Regions from separate parts of the Homo sapiens genome. Here region 2 is linked to region 1. The links are contacts of gene promoters, found by promoter capture Hi-C in blood cells and fetal thymus (Javierre and others, 2016). All regions are on one chromosome and are shown on one strand. The core of a region is centred on a gene start or on the middle of the fragment in contact, and the rest is flanking DNA. Distances in the headings are between cores, read along the strand shown.

What was found. The method cuts DNA at HindIII sites, captures the fragments that hold promoters and counts their contacts. A CHiCAGO score of 5 or more calls a contact.
Region 2: a contact is called between a fragment that was not itself captured here and the fragment with the promoter of TMEM14A in region 1, in 1 of 17 cell types (erythroblasts). The highest score is 8.2, in erythroblasts.

What each region holds. Positions count from the first base shown.
Region 1 is chr6:52,669,219-52,673,696 of GRCh38, reverse strand. It overlaps TMEM14A (transmembrane protein 14A), which reads right to left and starts at 2,584. Exons shown (of 5, transcript NM_014051.4): 1 at 2,452-2,584. RefSeq lists enhancers at 2,720-2,879, 2,868-3,368. The HindIII fragment of the contact is 3,190 bases long and covers 1,257-4,446 here.
Region 2 is chr6:53,481,229-53,486,165 of GRCh38, reverse strand. The region is part of intron 3 of GCLC-AS1 (GCLC antisense RNA 1); the gene reads right to left. Among named protein-coding and RNA genes, the nearest start is that of GCLC-AS1, 52 kb to the right of the region's middle. The HindIII fragment of the contact is 811 bases long and covers 885-1,695 here.

The DNA.
Region 1 (4,478 bases), core at 1,335-3,834:
CTGTAGGAGGCAGATGTGTGAATGAGCCCTAAGAGGAGAGGTGTGGGTACCATAACAAGGAGTGGCACCCAGCAAGGACTGGGAGCCTAAGGATGCCCAGATCAAACAGGGTCCCAGCTGGGACCTTGGAGAGATGTTGTGCCAAACCCCTATTAACCTCAATAAGGAAGGCAACAGGTTCAAGAGGCCAAAAGAGACCCATTAGGGGCTTACAAACAGAGGAGGGAGTCCAGTGGTGGTGAGCTGGGCAGGAAAACAACCGCTTGCAAACATCATGCAATTTATGCAGCATTTTCACTTAACACCCTCCCCTCAATGACCTCTACCTGGCAACTTGATTTAACTCAAAATTCAAGGCCTCAATTCCCCGTATGGCCCCTGTTCTATGGGACAGGTGGGGCAGGGGCTCAGATGTTCTTCATAGACAAGAAATAAATCTCTGGGTTGGGCAGGCCTGGGTTCCCTAGTTCAGAAAACACATTCAGGTTCATCTGCCACACAGGGTCATTCTAAGGGTATGCTTTAATTATTGCTGTCAGGTGCATTTACCCTACAGGGGAGCATGAATAAGTCAAGTGAAGAGGGTGCAGGGAAGGGTGTTCCTGGCAGAAGGGAGCGCATGTGCAAGGCCCTAATGGCACAAGAAAGCATGTTCTCAAAATGAAAAGTGCAAGGGGCTTGTGAAAAGAGAGGGTGCTGGTGAGAAAGACAGGGCTGTACACCCACATAAGCCCCGTAAAGGGAGTCTGGTTCCGTCCTAAGGGCAATGAAGGATCACTGAAGGGAGCCTCACAATCAGATTTAAATTCCAGCAAGCACTTCCCAGTTGCAGTAGTGAAGATGGGTTGTGAAGTGAGGCAGGGAGATAAATCGGGAAGCTGTTGCAGTAAAGTAAGCAAGAGCTTAGTTGATAACGGTAGGCTTATCTAGAGAAATGGCAATGAGAATGGAGAGAAGGTGGACAGATTTCAGAAGTTCAGGAGGTAGAATCAGAATTGAATTTGAGGCGGGAAGGGAAAGTCAGGGGTGAATCAGAGATGACTCACCCCTAGGTATCTGGCTTAGACCATTAGGAGAAGTAGGGAGTCGGGGAGCCTCATGCTATTCCCTGAGACAGAGAACATGGGAACAGCAGCAGGTGTGTGGCGGTGGGAAGAGGGAGGTGGCTAGGAATGATGGGACCTGTTTAGAATGTATTCAGTCTGAGACGCCCAACACACAGTCCGGAAAACACCCTTACATACAGATCTGAAGCTTATGAGAGTTCTTTCATTATCAGGTGTAACTTCTAGACCTAATTTTCTCCTAAAGCTAAGTAGCTGTTGTGAAAGATTAATTCCACTCCATCCTGAGCCCCCCAGCTCTTCCTGCGATCTTCTCTTGAGGACCCATACCCTTTTACTTGGTTGGGATTCTCTCAACTCTCAGCCAGCCAAGCTCCTTGAGGGCAAACCAAGGTTCAGTTTATCTTTGTCCTCCTCACAGCACCAAGAACCCTGCCATGCACAAGGCAGGTACTTAAAATACTTGTTAAATGAATAAATGAGTGAGTGAACCAAAGGAACAGCTTCTGCCTGAAGACATTCTGTAACTGACCTACCCAATACAGCTTTATTGCCAGGAAACAGGTAGCCCCTTAATCTCCTTAGCGAACTGACTGTTGTTCTAAAGAGGCAAAATAAATCTACTCCCAATGCTTGCAAGAAGATTCTGTTCTCACAGAGAATATTCAGACAAAAGAATCACCTATTCCATGACGGAGCCATGTGGCCAGGCCAGAAGCACACATTAAAGCCAGAGGCTGTGTTAACATGGAAGGGATAAGGTGGGAGAGGATGTGCACAGCACATCACACGCTCTCATCACAAATGTGATGCTCAAGCCTTGGAAGGACTAAAACGCATCTTGGATGCAATGCAGCAAAACGATTTACCATACCAGGTACAAAACAAGGTGACAGGGGACAGCCTCGCTGCCCGCCCCAAATCCTCCAAAATTCGGAGAATTAAGAGATTTTCGGTGAACTGTTACATAAAAAGCATTTTCACATGCTAAAGATATAACAATTACCTACCCTTGAGCTCTTGGAGGGCACAAAAGGCACATTTTCGAGTGGGGTCTGGGTGGTGCTGAGAAGGTTAAAATCCTGCCAAGCATTTTGCAATGGTCCATGAGCCCACCCCACCACCCCAGATCCAGGAAGGTAGGAGGCAGGATAGGTGGGATATTTAGGGATACCAGAAGGCAGAAACTCGGGAGGAGGAGAAAAATGATACCGCGGAGGTAAGACCGATGCCCTGCAAAATCCCCTCAAGGTCCTCTGCATCATCGTTTGCTGTACAGGTTTGGCGCGGGGGAGGGGATGCCCGCTAAGCAACGCCCCTTATATTTCTGCAGTTTTGTAAGAAAATTCAGAGCAGGAAGGTCTCCATTGCGGGATGCACAGCTCACCTGCAGCCCCGAGCCTTCACTGCAGCTGAAAAGACAGAAGTCTGGGGCCAGCTGCCGCCAAGCGCGGTACCTGGAGTCCGGAAGCAGTCTCCGCACCAGCGCTGTCCCACTCGGCGCCCAGCCGTCTCGCGCTGAGCAAAGGCCGCTCCCTCCTGGAAACGCCCTCCCTGCCGCGCGCATGCGCTGTGTCCCTTCTCGCCTTGCAGGACTCCACCCGGTCCATGCCCTCCGGCTGAATCCGGGCGGCCTGTAGGCCAGGCAGCCAGGAGGCCCTGTGCTGCAACATCCCGGCGGCAGCCGGACCCGTTGCTCCGTCTATCCTGCCTTCGGCCCTGTCCTGGAGCCAGGGCTGGGGTTTGCTGCCTCCCGCCTGACGGAGCAGGACTGGCAGGAAGCGTGTTTGCAAGAAGCCAAAATTACAGAAGGCGAAGATTTTTAAATTAACTCCATTCATCTTTCAAGGGACATTTCCAGAACCTCCAAAAGGCAACCCGAGGTCTTCTACACACCCTCCAGCAGACTGTCCCCACTGTCAGTGGAGGGAGCTAAGGTTCAGTGAGGTCAAGTGACTTAGTTGTCCCAGGTCAAAATCCAAGTTTGCCTGGTGTCAAAGCCCAAGCACCCTTCATTACACTATGGGATCATCTAGATGTGGTTGGGAGACGAGGATCCTAGTTTTAAACTTCAGGCCCAGGATTTGCTGGGTTTAGATATCTACTGGGAAAGGTATAGAATTCCAGAGTTGGAAAGCACTTAAAACCTTGCCTAATGCAAGGCAATCCGCTCAATCCCAGGAACGAAACTTAAACTGACCTTATTTTTTTTTTAAATACAGGATCTCAGTCGGTCGCCCAGGCTGGAGTGCAGTGGCACCATCCCGTCTCACTGCAACCTCTGCCTCCTGCCTCCTGGGTTCAAGCGATTCTCCAGCCTCAACCTCCCAAGTAGCTGGGATTACAGGTGTGTGCCACCTCACCCGACTATTTTTTTTTTGTAGAGACGGGGTTTCACTGTGTTGCCCAGGATGGTCTTGAATTCCTGAGCTCAAAGCAATCCTCCCGCCTCTGCCTCCCAAAGTGCTGGGATTACAGTTTAAATTGACTTTAAATTATGCCTCCCTGTAGCAACTTATCATCTCAATCTTCTGCCTTCTTGATTGAATACAGAACTCCGACCCTCTTCCTTATGTAACAGCCCTTTGGAGATTTGAAGAAGGTTGTCATAGTGAAGTAGCTCTAGAGGTTCTGTGTCACTGAGAATTACAGCGGAATTCCTCAGAATAAAAAAGGAAACTCAAAAATTAAATCTTGTGAAGTTTGTTTGCTACATCTATTCTTTGTGCATAAAAGTGCTTCAGGGAAGTAATATAACTACATCTAACTTATGAAAGTCTAAGTTGGTCCTGGGGAATTAATAAAATTCCTGAAGATTCACAGAAGAGTTGATGGCAAGGCACTGGAATGTGGCGTGGAGAAAGTGATAGCCTGAAATTTGGTTCTGAGTTCTCTCAGCCCTCCTTTCCATCCCCTTCTATGCCCATCCTTACCCCAGCCTCCTCACCTTCTCTCCTCACACTCTCAGAACACTTACCCTATTTGGAATAAAACTAAAATCCTCTTGGAATACTTCATTATCTTCATCTGATGTGACCTGGGTAAATAACTCCCCTCTGGACCTCAGTGCCTGGATTTAAGATATGGACAAGACTAGATGCTCTGAGATCCCTTACACCCTATCACCAACATACTCGAAGCTGGAAACAGCCTCATGATATTCCTACTCAAGGCGTATCACCTAAAACTAAAGAAAAACTCTTTGAATATTATGGGAATTCCATACCCTTGAATATGTGGGAACAGGATGGTTCTTAGGCAAAGGGACCACTGCCCTCTCAACTCATAGGCACCAGCTGCTGCCTTCTCCAGCTAATGGAAAGGCTGCAGCCCAAGGTAAGGATGCAGGAAAGCCTATTCCCCTCAACTGTTTTGTAAAGCTTTCTATGCATGATCCACAGCAGAGACTCTTAA
Region 2 (4,937 bases), core at 41-2,540, 810 kb before region 1:
TAAATGCTTTCCATGTGGCATCTCAGTCTTTACTAGAACCCCTGCAGTAGGATATTATGATTGCCATTTTGCCAGTAATGAAACTAAAGCATAATCAGGTTAAGCAACTTGCCCATTTTTTTTTTCAATCCAAGACAATCCTGATTTGGCTAATCTTGACTGATATTTTGGTGCTTATATATAAAGAGCTCTGGATTATTTGTCAAAAGTCTTGAGGGGGTGGGCACAGTGGCTCATGCCTGTAATCCCAGCACCTTAGGAGACCAAGGCGGGAGGATCACTTGAAGCCAGAAGTTTCAGACCAGCTTGGGCAATATAGTGAGATTCCTGTCTCTGCCCAAAAAAATAAAAATTAGCTGGGCACAGTGGTGTGTGAGTGTAGTCCCAGCTACTCAGGAGGCTGAGGCGGAAGGATTGTTTGAACCCAGGGCTTCAAGGTTACAGTGAGCTACAAATGTGCCATCGCACTCCAGCCCGGGCAATAGAGTTAGATCCTGTCTCAAAAAAAAAAAAAAAAGAAAAGAAAAGAAAACAAAAGTCTTGGGTTCTAGTCCCACTTTACTGCTGATTAACATTTTAACTTGAAGAGTGATTCAATCACTCGGTTGCCCCACTTGAAAAAAAAAAAAAGCTGGAGTACATATCTAGAATCCTTACCACACGAACATTCTATATTTTTGGTTCTTTGACTCTAAAATGGTCAGCTTAAAAGAGTGTTTTCCATCCCTCTTTTGGCTGTTAGAGCCATCCCTGGTGACTTTACCCCTTTCCCCTGAACCTTTCATATGTTTATTGAGCATCCACTCCAGTTGTGCACTGGTGTTTGTTTTCACGGGGTTACTGGTACCCTCCACCCTCACCCCTCTTTCTCCCTGCAGAAAGCTTTTCTAATACTTTCAGCCGTGGTCAATTTCAGGTGATAGCAATGGTAATCATTTATTGAGTACTTACCAAATGCTAGAGACTGACACAGGCTATGTCATTTTTTCAATACCAAGCCCTGTGAAATGGGTACTATCAGACCATTTTTACACCTGTGGCTTAGAAGACTTAAATGTCTAGTGTAAGGGCGGTTGTAGTGGTAGGCAGAGGCAGGTCTCAAACCCTCGCCTACCTAACTCAGACACACTTGGCAATACTATATATCTCTTTAAGCCTTTCAGAGGATATGTTTTAGGAGGTGGATTGTTCCATTTTATATATATATGAACATGATAGACAGACAGATAGATAGATAAATAGATAGAGATAATTTTAAACGTGCTCACTTTCATTTATGAAAATTTACATTTGATAACTAAAAGAGCCTTGCAATTCCAGCATCTCCCTCATGGTGGCAGTAGAAGACTAAGTCATGTACACGCAGCCTCCAGCACCAACAACTAACCCAGAAGAAACCTCCTTAATAAATCAGCTTTTGGTCAAGATTGGTGTTACGTAAAATGCAAAATTAGGACCCTCGGAAGGGGAAAAAAAGAGTCTCAAGTATCTAGGTTATTGACCCCAGAAACAAAAGAAATTTGACAAACTTGCAAAACAGAGACAACAACTTCCTATGGGGGAAAAAAAAACAAAGCAACTACTTGTTGCTGCCCACCCGTTTAGTAACTGGCCTTGGTAGTCTTCCAGCAGCAAGCACAATAGCCTTGTCCACAGATGCTTTTCCCATTTCCTCGGTCCCCTTGAAACCAAGCTTTTGAGAACAAATAGTTTATTTCTCCTTTCTTAATTTGCTCTGAAGGTTTTTAACACAGCGATAACTGGCATATAGAAATTTCACATATTTTTCTTGATCACTATGGCCTATCAACCCCCGCCTGATGATTAAATGAAGGACGATGTATCCAAGGTTCTTAAAGAACTTGGTTGCAACGAATGAACACAAAAAACACCAGACAATAAACATGTATTGAATTATATCTGGGTACAGTAGACACCATTGGGCAGACTTCAGAATTAGCCCCCGGAAGTTTTGCTTTTGCTTGACTCTTGGTCATAGCTGATTGGACTAGAAGTGAACACCTGACTCAGGAGGAGGAAGTTCATTGGCTGACCAGGAGCCAATTAGGGTCTCTCTCTTGAGAACTCTGACTAAGAGACAGAGATGCAGGTTATTTAGTCCAGTTGCGGGTGTAGCATTAGACAGATATAAAACCCAAGAACTCTTGGTACTGAGGCCTGGTTGTTCAACTTTCCTCGGATTTTAGGGGGTGACCAGGATCCCTCCCAGCAAAGTATCATTTTTGTTTAAGCTTAATTTCAGTGGGTTATGTTACATGCATTCTCCATCAAAGACTCCAAGCCCTGTGCAAAGTGCAGTGAGGGCATACAAAGAATTTATGACATTTCCCTGCTCTCCTGGGTATGGGTAATTTTCCTTGCTGTAGAGAGAACAGGGTCTCTGGAATTCAACCCACCTTTGTGACCCTGTGAATGTTCCTTTTTTTCTCTCTCAGAGATTCAACTTTGTTCTCAGTAACATGGAAATGATAGCATCTGCCTAACAGTCATTTTGAACAGGAAGCGTCCCTCTGGCCGGGTGCCTCGTGCATGGCAGATTATCAGTAAATGTCAGCCTCTGCACTGCTTTGCAAGTAGGTCCTTTGGCCGCTCTCAAATGCAAGTCACACAAAGATTGTGGGAGTTTTTTTTTTTTTTTTTTAAATAGAAAATACATCATTCCTATAGAGAAAAAAATACAGTCACATTTAATAATGGCTGTTTAGACAGGGACAGGTTCTCTCGAGCCTCTGGAGGTGGTGGAAAGTGGAGGTGGGTCACTGATCCCAAGAAATAAGCTACAGGACTGAGGCCAGTTTCTGGAGAGGGGATGGTCACTCCTATATTTAAGCCAATAGTGAAGGTTAAGTAGGAGAGTCCAGAGGGACCCTTGAGCCCACTTGCTTGACAATATTGGTGCAGGACAAGTCTAACCCTCCTAACTGGGCAGCTGCCCCCTCCCAATAGTGGTCTCTCTTATGGAGAAAATTTTTACCCGATCAACTTATTCTCGTGAAGCACAAGGGCCTGATATGAACACCCCTTCTGTAGGCATTTTCAAAGAACTTAGTGAGGGTAACAGAAAGAAAAACCTCTATGCATCGAACTTCAGGCACCATCGGAGAAATGTCTTTTCTTAGATTGGCTTTCAAAGTATCTTTAAATCACCCTATTACAAATGGGGTATTAAATAGCCTGCTCTGCCTAGAGAAAAGGTTCCCAAGATTCCTTGTAGCTGCTGGGAAGTTACTGAAATCCTCAGTGACGTGTTTTGAAAAAGTGTTGACAATACAGCGGAAAGTTGCATCTGGCAGCTAACAAATATTTCTTGAGGGTCCACTCGATGCCAGGGATTGTTGCCCTGAAAATGCAAGGCTACCAAAACAAGCAGTTCAGGCCCTCAAGAACCCTGAATGTTCATGAGTACCCACCAAGTGTCACATAGAGCTTATGTCTCAGATGTTTTTCACAGTCCACCCCCCCAGGATGCATTTCCAAATTCTGTGGAGAGCCTAGAACTGTTTCCTCAAAGCCCTTTAGAGCAGTGAGGCACCAATATCTCTCTTTATTACTCCTTTTTCTTTTCTTTCTTTCTTTTTTTGTTTTTGTTTTTTGTTTTGTTTTGTTTTTTTAGAGATGGAGTCTCACTGTATTGCTTAGGCTAGTCTCAAACTCCTGGGCTTAAGCAATCCTCCCATCTCAGCCTCCTGAGCAACTGGGACTACAGGAGAGCACCACCATGCCCAGCTTTATTACTTCTTTTTAAAAAATAAAACTTTTTTTTAAAAGCAGAGAACGTGCTCATTCATTCTGCAGCTGGATCTTGAATAACTTTTCCACTTTGAGAGTTCTGACCCCAAAAACATTGCTGTCACTTTCCAGGTGTTCTATCCTTCCTTGGACCCCATAGCCTGGCTGCCCAGGTCAGACAAGTATGGAACATTTGTTTGTGAGGACAGAGACAGCCACTGGCAACATACCGAGGTATTACAGAGACTTGCTGTGAAGCAAGGCCAACAAAACATCACTTACACAATCAAATAACAAAGAGGGGCATCTTTTTCAAAATTAAAGGTCTATGTGTAAATAAATTCTTTCTGAAAAATAAACAAGATATGAGATAAGGATCCAGGTTTGCTTTGGTATCACTATGGTTACTAGAATGATGTTCAAGACATTTTCACCATGTTCTCCTCCTTTTGAATGCACGCCACAAGTAAAGCATGCCTGAGTTTGGTCTAGAGAGCCTAGGGTGCATTCTCTTTCATGGATGTAGAAGGGATGCAGTTAGCACATTGCTAGTCTTAAAAACAAACAAAAATCCTAGGGAAGATCCTCTCCTTTACTGGCTCAAAAAAGCCCCTGGTAAGAAAAAGTTGTTATACTATTAATGACATGACTGTTTGGTATTGTAAATATCACTCTCAATCAACCAGTATTAGTGAGCACTTCTGAGCACACTCACCATAAGAAGTCATTTACCCGATGGTTATTGAAACTGTTCCATATGAAATTTTGAATTAGTTGCTCAATGTTCTCATTTTTGCCACAGTGTTTTTCTTGACCTAGAGACATACTCAGTTCTATTCCTCATAAGAACAAACTCTTAACTTTGTTCCTGTAACCTAGACTGAGGACTCAGAACTGACCTCGTTTCACTGCTGCATAATACCATATTTCCTGTTTGACAAAGATCCTACCTTGAGCTTGCAAAGACTCCCTGCTTCTTAAAACTGAAACTGGACCCCTTCCTTACACTTTATACAAAAATTAATTCAAGATAGATTAAAGACTTAAATGTAAGACCTAAAACCATAAAAACCCTGGAAGAAAACCTAGGCAATACCATTCAGGACATAGGCATGGGCAAAGACTTCATGACTAAAACACCAAAAGCAACGGCAACAAAAGCCAAAATTGATAAATGAGATCTAATT